Linked DNA regions of Homo sapiens: regions 2 and 3 are each linked to region 1. The links are contacts of gene promoters, found by promoter capture Hi-C in human tissues and cell types (Jung and others, 2019). All regions are on one chromosome and are shown on one strand. Each heading gives the region's core, a stretch centred on a gene start or on the middle of the fragment in contact. The rest is flanking DNA. Distances are from core to core; before and after follow the strand shown. Region 1 holds the start of KLHDC7B (kelch domain containing 7B). Region 2 overlaps PPP6R2 (protein phosphatase 6 regulatory subunit 2). Region 3 has its middle 8.1 kb from the start of SHANK3.

Evidence for each region. The method cuts DNA at HindIII sites, captures the fragments that hold promoters and counts their contacts. A contact is called where the count stands out against the background at its distance.
Region 2: a contact is called between a fragment that was not itself captured here and the fragment with the promoter of KLHDC7B in region 1, in 2 of the 25 tissues and cell types used here (IMR-90 fibroblasts and dorsolateral prefrontal cortex).
Region 3: a fragment that was not itself captured here is called in contact with the fragment with the promoter of KLHDC7B in region 1 in 3 of the 25 tissues and cell types used here (H1 embryonic stem cells, dorsolateral prefrontal cortex and lymphoblastoid cells).

What each region holds. Positions count from the first base shown.
Region 1 is chr22:50,544,570-50,547,370 of GRCh38, reverse strand. It overlaps KLHDC7B (kelch domain containing 7B), which reads right to left and starts at 1,472. Exons shown (of 1, transcript NM_138433.5): 1 at 1-1,472. The coding sequence starts at 1,127. It overlaps KLHDC7B-DT (KLHDC7B divergent transcript), which reads left to right. Exons shown (of 4, transcript NR_199716.1): 2 at 903-997; 3 at 1,976-2,584. The HindIII fragment of the contact is 12,740 bases long and covers 1-1,845 here.
Region 2 is chr22:50,424,376-50,427,176 of GRCh38, reverse strand. All of the region lies in intron 10 of PPP6R2 (protein phosphatase 6 regulatory subunit 2), which reads right to left. Among named protein-coding and RNA genes, the nearest start is that of MIR12114, 18 kb to the right of the region's middle. The HindIII fragment of the contact is 3,827 bases long and covers 1-2,801 here.
Region 3 is chr22:50,663,321-50,666,121 of GRCh38, reverse strand. No RefSeq gene overlaps it. Among named protein-coding and RNA genes, the nearest start is that of SHANK3, 8.1 kb to the left of the region's middle. The HindIII fragment of the contact is 5,475 bases long and covers 1-2,801 here.

The DNA of each region.
Region 1 (2,801 bases), core at 223-2,722:
CCGGCCTCGCCGGCATCGTAGGCCCCTGTGGCACCCGGCCCTTGGGACGAGAGTGGGCGACCTTGAGGCGGACTCTCTAGCCAGGGGCGCGTGGAGTCTGGGGCTGGGCCAAAGCTCCGGGTGCCCGGGACCTCCCTGCTGACCCAGGGCCAGCCTCCTCCGGGGGCAGGGACCCCCGAGGCCTCCCTGCTCCAGCCACCCTTGGCCCCAGAGCCTTCCGTCTGAGACCCAGGCTGCAGGGCGCGGGGAGCGGGCAGCGCCGGGAGTGCGGGCTCCTGGGCGAGTGGGGGTCCTGTGGGGAGGCCGCGCGCGTGGGCGTCCAGGGCGGCGGCCCCGTCCACCGCGTCCCACACGCTCCCCGCGGCGCCCAGGCGGAGCGGGTCCAGTTTCCGGGGGCGGCGGGCTCTGTCTCCCGAGCCAGCGTCCATCCGCCGCCGCCGGCCCCGGCCTCTCCCCATCGAGCCCGAGGGCCCCGCGCCCGCCTGCCAGGGGCCAGTGTCCTGTTGCCCCGCGGGGCCTGCGGCCTGGCGAGAGGACGCCCTGACACCACCTGTCTCCGCCTCCGCTTCGCTGCCAGGGCTCCGAGGAGTGAAGTGGATCAGGAGGGGGGCGGACATCCCCCCTGCTTCGCTCCTGCCCAGGAGGGCAGTGCCTGGCCTGGGAGGCTCCTTTCCTTCCGCTCGGGGGGCCGCGGGGGTGGCACTGCCCCGTTGCTGTCCTAATGCCTCTCTGCGGGCCTCCTCGACAGCCGTCTTGAGTGGAAGCCGGGCCATGGCGGCCAGGCCCCCGCCCGGCGCTGCAGCAGGGACAGGGCTCTGCTGGCCGCGTCCTGGGGGCTCTGGTTTCCCCTGCCCTGGGCTCTGCCCCTCGCTGCCATCACTGACCTTAGACTTCGGTTGCAGGGCCAGCTCAGCTCCTCCTGCCTGATGAGGTTGAGCCCCGAGGGCTGTGGACACCGGTTCTGCCGCCTCTTGATCGTGCCCGGAGCCAAACCAGTGTAAGGCCAGCGCTGTGGCAGCCACCACAGCCAGCGCCAGGAGGGCCAGCACAGCACTATCCCAGTCATTGTCACTGTCCCAGTCCCAGCCCCAGAGGGGACCATCTGGCTCCAAGGTGCCCTGGATCATGGTTCAGGGCTGCAATAGAGGCCTGATGGCAGGCTGGCAGTGCATGCAGAGCACAGAGGCCTGGGCTGAGGCACCGGCCAGCGCCTGCCCCAAGGGCTGCCCAGTTAAGGTGGACCAGTCCTCCAGGGCCTGGGAATGGTGGGGTCTCTGCTTGCACTCAGGCCTGGGGGTGTCAGTAGGGCCTGGCTGCAGATATCAGGAGACAGCGAGGCTTATGGCAGGATAGGAGCCCAGGGTCTCTGCAAGCACCCCACCAGCTCCTGCCCTCTTCTCCTCCTCGTAGGCCCCAGGGTCCTCAGGCAGCGTTCCTGAGCTCTGTGCTGTCATCACAGCCAACCTGCTTCTGCCTGGTAGACCCTCACACCCCTAAATTTATTCCACACCCCACAGTCCCTCCTCTCAGCCTGGGCCCAGCTTCAGGGGGCTTGGCAGGGAAGGGTTACCCACAGGGAGATGTTATCTCTAGCTCTAGCAATGTGATGTGGCCCTGATGAAATCACCAGAAACCGGAGAGGCTGATTCCACTGTGGGCCAGCAGGGGAGGGGTGGGGGCCGTGCACGGGAGGGTGCAGGCTGTGCCTGACGGTGGTCTCTCAGGCTGAAGAGGGAGACCCTGGACACGGGTCCTGGCAGTGAGCATTATCATTGCAGGGGTGCTGTGGAGGTTTGTACTGGGGCACAGGGAGGGGGCATAGAGAGGAGACTGAGGCTCCCATAGCTCCTCCTCCAGCAGCTTTTGGACTCCTTACTCTGGGTTTACCAGACATGGGATAGGGTTATCAAGTCAAGAGAAAAAAAAAATTAATGGGATAAATAAAATCCAAACATATTTCTCTCTTTATGGCCAGGCTTATTTCAGCCCACCTAGACCTTCTAGGATCTCCTGGACCCCCTGCGCCCATCGAGAGTGTCTTGACTGCCCAGATGAGACTCTCACTGTGCCCCTGGAGAACCCTGAGCCCAGCCTGCCCCCTACTCCAGTTACCGCATCAGCCAGCACCTGGATCCCTTAGAAACCACCCCCCTCTGGCCCCAGGTGCTCTAATAGCCAGACTCTGGGTGTCTTCATCTCAGTCCTCAGCCTTCCCTTATCTGAGCTGAGGACTCGCCCTCGAGACCACATCCTGGCTGGTACCTCCTAGCCCTGGCTCAGGCCGGCATGTAGGTACTTCTGTTGGATGTGAGCACTTGCTTCCTGAGGGAGAAGCCTGGGCTCCTCCACCTGCTCCTTGCTTAATCCCATCTCAGGAGTGTCTCGGGCCAGGTGCCAGGTGAGGCTCAGACAAGAAAAAGAGCCTGGAGTCCCTGGGACAAAGGCAGGGCTCCCTGGAAAGTACCGTGTGTATTTTTCCTTCCTCTGGGACACAGCAGGCCTGGGGATTTCTCCCTTACTCAAGCAGCAAGGAGATGGCCTAGGAGTGTCCCTGGCACCCAGCCTGAACCCTACTGAGCCTCAGGTAACTCACCTCCCAGCTCCCCCTGGGACTATTAGATGACAGGGAGAGGGTGAGGGTGGGCCCCATGCCTTAAGGTGGACCTCAAGTTGAGGGAAGGCTTTCTAGACCGTGCCCTTATTCTCTGTCCCAGTCTCAGGCTCTGCCTCTTGGTTAAGTTTGGGGTCCAGAAACCTTCAGAGGATGGAGATGACACCCATAAATATTAGAGACTGAGTAG
Region 2 (2,801 bases), core at 193-2,692, 120 kb after region 1:
CGCTCTGTTGCCCAGGCTGGAGTGCAGTGGCACAATCTCGGCTCACTGCAAGCTCCACCTCCCGGGTTCACACCATTCTCCTGCCTCAGCCTCCCAAGTAGCTGGGACTACAGGCACATGCCACCACACCCAGCTAATTTTTTCATATTTTTAGCAGAGACGGGGTTTCACTATGTTGGCCAGGATGGTCTCAATCTCCTGACCTCATGATCCACCCACCTCAGCCTCCCAAAGTGCTGGGATTACAGGCATGAGCCACTGCGCCCGGCCGGCCAGCTGGTTTTTAACAATTAGGCCGAGACCATTCATGGGGGAAAGGACGGTGTTTTTTTTTTTTTTTTTTGAAACAGAATCTCGCTCTGTCACCCAGGCTGGAGTGCAGTGGTGTGATCTTGGCTCACTGCAACCTCCGCCTCCCAGGTTCAAGTGATTCTCCTGCCTCAGCCTCCCAAGTAGCTGGGATTACAGGCGCTGCCACCATGCCTGGCTAATTTTTGTATTTTTTGTAGACATGGGGTTTCGCCACATTGGCCAGGCTGGTCACAAACTCCTGACCTCAGGTGATCTGCCTGCCTTGGCCTCCCAAAATACTGGGTTTACAGGCGTGAACCACCGTGCCCGGCCTAGGACAGTCTTTTCAACAAGTGCTGGGAAAACTGGATAACCCCATGCAAAAGAATGAAGCTGGACCCTTACTTTACACCAGATACAAAAATTAATTCAAAATGGATTAAAGACCTAAACATAAGAGAGAAAACATACAACTTTTTGAAGGAAGCATAGAGGAAAAGCTTCATGATACTGATTTGGCAATGACTTTTTTGGATATGACACCGAAAGCACAGGCAACAGAGAAAAAAAGATAATTGGATTTCATCAAAATTTAAAACTTGTGTGTCAAAGGTCATTATCAAGGAGTAAAGGCTGGGTGGCTGGTGGCTCACGCCTATAATTCCAGCACTTTGGGAGGCCACGGCCGGAGCATCACTTGAAGTCAGGAGTTCAAGGCCAGCCTGATCAACATAGCGAGACCCCATCTCTACAAAAAATATAAAAATTAGCTGGATGTGGTGGCGCATGCCTGCAGTCTTAGCTACTCAGGAGGCTGAGGTGGGAGGATCACTTGAGCCCAGGAGTTCAAGGTTACAGGAAGCTATGATCACTGTACTGCAAGACCCTACATCTAAAAAAAATTTTTTATGTAAAAAGATAACCCAAAGAAAATATTTGCATATATCTGATAAAGGATTAATATCCAGAATATATATAGAACTTCTAAAACTAAAAAAAAAAAACAAAAAAAAAACTCAATTCAAAAATGGTCAAAGGACTTGAATAGACATTTCTCCAACGAAGCTATTCACATGGCCAAAAAGCACGAGAAGATGCTCGACATCACTTGTCACACGGAGACACTGTTCCACACGCACATCAGATGACGAGCATCAGCCACACGGAGACACCGTTCCACACGCACATCAGATGACGAGCATCAGAAGAAGGAAGACAAGTGTCGGCGGGATGAGGGGGAGGATGAGGAGAAAGGGGAGACTTTGTTGACAGGAAGATAAAATGGTGCAGCCACTGTGGAAAGGTCTGGCCTCAAAACTTAATCATGGAATTGTCACATGACCTGGCCTCATAGGTATTTATCCAGAAGAACTTCTTCTTACTTTCAGAAGAACTGAAAGTAAGGACTCAAACAGGTATTTGTACACCCACATATACAGCAGTGTTATTCACAATAGCCAAGGCTGGAAGCAACCCAAGTCTCCACTGATGGATGGATGAATGGACAGAATGTGGCCCACCCACACAGTAATTTTTCAGCCTTAAAAAGGAAGGAAATTTGGACATACAGTACAATACTGAATGAACCTTGGGCACATAGTGCTAAGTGAAATAAGTCAGTCACAAAAAGATAATACTTTATGATTCCACTCATAAACTGTACCTAGAATAGTCAAATTCAGAGACAAAGACAATGGTGGTTGCCAGAGACTGTGGAGAGGGAGAATGAATGGGGAGTTAGTGTTTAACGGAGAGAGTTTCTGTTTGGGAAAATGAAAAACTTCTAGATGTGAATAATGGTAATGGCTATACAAGATTGTGAATGCACTGAGTGACACACCTTAAAATAGTTAAAACAGCCAAGTTTATGTTATGATATTTTACCACAGTAAATATAAAAGAGAGGAAGAAAGTGGAAGACAGAATTCTTTTGAAGAAGGAAAAGGGGCTGGGTGCAGTGGCTCAAGCCTGTAATCCCAGCACTTTGGGAGGCCAAGGCGGGTGGATCACGAGGTCAGGAGTTTGAGACCATCCTGGCCAACACGGTGAAACCCCGTCTCTACTAAAAATACAAAAAAAAATTAGCTGGGCATGGTGGCGCATGCCTGTAATCTCAGCTACTCGGGAGGCTGAGGCAGGAAAATCGCTTGAACCAGGGAGTCGGAGATTGCAGTGAGCCAAGGTCCCGCCACTGCACTCCAGCCTGGCGACAGAGAGAGACTCCATCTCAAAAAAAAAAAAAAAAAAAAAAAGAAGAAGAGGGAAAAGGAAAGTAGGTCTCTTTTGTAATTGCTTCCCTGATGCAGACTGGGATCTCACAGCCAAAGCAGTGCCCAGAACTCATACACGCTGACAGACGTTCCACACGCGGACAGACCTTCCACACGCTGACAGACGTTCCACACGCGGACGGACCTTCCACACGCTGACAGACGTTCCACACGCGGACGGACCTTCCACACGCGGACGGACCTTCCACACACTGACGGACCTTCCACACGCGGACGGAC
Region 3 (2,801 bases), core at 158-2,657, 120 kb before region 1:
CAGTTTGGTTTCAAGGAACAATACATTTCCCAGAGAAGTTCAAGAGCTGGACTTGGAGCAAATGCCCAGCTCAGCCACCAAATACCCAGGTGGCCTAGGAAAGCTTCCTAGCCTTCCTATGTCTCCGTGTGTGCTCAGCTAAGCTGGGGACTATAGTACAAACTGTTTCATTTCCTCATTCATTCTGGCCAGATGGCAGGCCTGGTTGAGATGCAAGGTGTCTGCCTTCAGAGGCTCACAGGTCAGTTCTCAGCCTCCTGGGCCATTGTGTGGACTAGATGAGGTACGTGTGTGTAAAATGCTTAGCACATGCCTAGTACCTGGTAAACACTCTAAATTTTATCATCATCAAAGCTAGTTCAGATTTTGGAGTGTATTCTGATGAGTGTGTTCTCCATATCTAGCAGCAAAACAGCAGCGTAAAGGGATGGCTGATCTTTGTTGTATATTCTTAGAAAGAGTGTTAAATTTAAAATACTGTTTTAACATTGAAATGTGGAATTAGCCGGCCAAGGTGGTTCACACCTGTAATCCCAGCACTTTGGGAAGCCAAGGTGAGCAGATCACTTGAGCTCAGAAGTTTAAGAACAACCTGAGCAACAAAGTGAGGCCCCGTCTCTACAAAATTACGGACATTTGCCAGACGTGGTGGCGCGTGCCTGTGGTCCCGGCTACTTGGGAGGCTGAGGCAGGAGGATCGCCTGAGCCTGGGTGGTCAAGGCTGCAGTGAGCCGAGATCACACCACTGCACTCCAGCCTGGGAGACAGAGCGAGACCCTGTCTCAAAGGAAAAAAAAACGTGAAATTAAAAGTGAGAAATATTTGTCTAGTTAATTTCACATTTAGGGTTCCGAGTATCTTTTCATTCAAGACGATGTGTTTTGCCTGTGTTTACCTCTCCACTCTCTCAAAGGCCACTGACAATTTAAGATCTATGTACCTATTTTTATTGTAGTGAAAAGCACATAACATGCAGTTCACCATCATAACCGTGTTTAAGGGTACAGCACAGGAGAGACAAAAAGAATGAATTCCCTGTTCTACTGATTTCCCCTTATCAGTGCTGCGCTTGACTAGTCTTATAAAATTAAAGATTTAAAAATTTTATATATATATATATATATTTTTTTTTTTTTTGATACAGAGTTTCATTCTGTCGCCCAGGCTGGAGTGCAATGGCACAATCTCGGCTCACTGCCACCTCTGCCTCCCAGGTTCAAGCAATTATCATACTTCAGCCTCCCTAGTAGCTGGGACTATAGGTATGCACCACCATGCCTGGCTAATTTTTGTAGTTTTAGTAGAGATGGGGTTTCACCATATTGGCCAGGCTGGTCTCGAACTCCTGGCCTCAAGTGATCCACCCACCTCGGCCTCCCAAATTGCTGGGATTACAGGCATGAGTCACCACACCTGGCCCTAGAACTATGTATATTTTTAAATAATAAATCCATCCTCATGTTAGAACCATCAAATGGGTTATGACTGGAATGACGCAGATGGGATCAGAGATGAAGAAGCCAACAAAAGCCAGAGAGTCGGCCATACCACAAGAAGGACGTCCGGGCTGCTGGGGAATGGCTTATTGGCCATTCACATAGCTTCTTTCGTGAAGTGTCTGTTCTAGTCTATTGCCATTTTTAAAAACTGAGTGGTTTGAGTTATTAAAATTTAGGAGCTCCTTATATAATCTGGATACAAGTTTTTTGTTGTTGTTGTTGTTTTGAGACGGAGTCTCCCCCTGTCGCCCGGGCTGGAGTGCAGTGGCGCGACCTCAGGTCACTGCAAGCTCCACCTCACGAGTTCCCGCCATTCTCCTGCCTCAGCCTCCCGAGTAGTTGGGACTACAGTGGCCCACCACCACACCCAGATAATTTTTTTGTATTTTTAGTAGAGATGGGGTTTCGCCGTGTTAGCCAGGATGGTCGTGATCTCCTGACCTCGTGATCCGCCCGCCTCGGCCTCCCAAAGTGCTGGGATTACAGGCGTGAGCCACCGCGCCTGGCCCTGGATACAAGTTTTTATAAGATATATGTATTGCAAAAGTTCTCTAATTTCTTGGCTTGCCGTTTCATTTTTGTAATAGCCTCTTTCAAAGAACAAAAGTCTTGCATTATTATAGAATTCAATTTATCTTTTTTGTTTAATCGTTCTCATATTCTTTGGGTTCACTCTAAAAAATCTTTGCCTACCACAAGATCACAAAAATATTTTCCTGTGTTTTATAGTTTTATTTTATTTCTTTTTTTTAAGAGATGGGGGGCCAGGCGTGGTGGCTCATACCTGTAATTCCTGGGAGGCCAAGGCGCATGGATCACCTGCGGTCAGGAGTTGGAGACCAGCCTGGCTAACATGGCAAAATCCCGTCTCCACTAAAAATACAAAAATTAGGTGGGCACGTTGGCGCACGCCTGCGTTACAGCAGGAGGATTACTTGAACCCAGGAGGCAGAGGTTGCAGTGAGCCGAGATCACGCCACTGCGCTCCAGCCTGGGCTACAGAGCGAGAATTCGTCTCAAAAAAAAAGAGATGGGGGTCTCACCATGTTGCCCAGGCTGTGTAGTTTTAGCATTTACATTTAGGCCTGTCATTAATTTCAAGTTAATTTTTGTTTTTGGTATCAAGAAAAGGTAGCTGTTCATATTTTTTTGGGGGGAGCATGTCCAGTTGTTTCAGAACCATTTTTAAGATTTTTAAATTTAGTTTTTATTGTGGTAAAATATACATAACAAAATTTACCATTTTAACAATTTTTAAGTATACAATTTTGTGGCATTAAGTGAATTCGCCACCATCTCCAG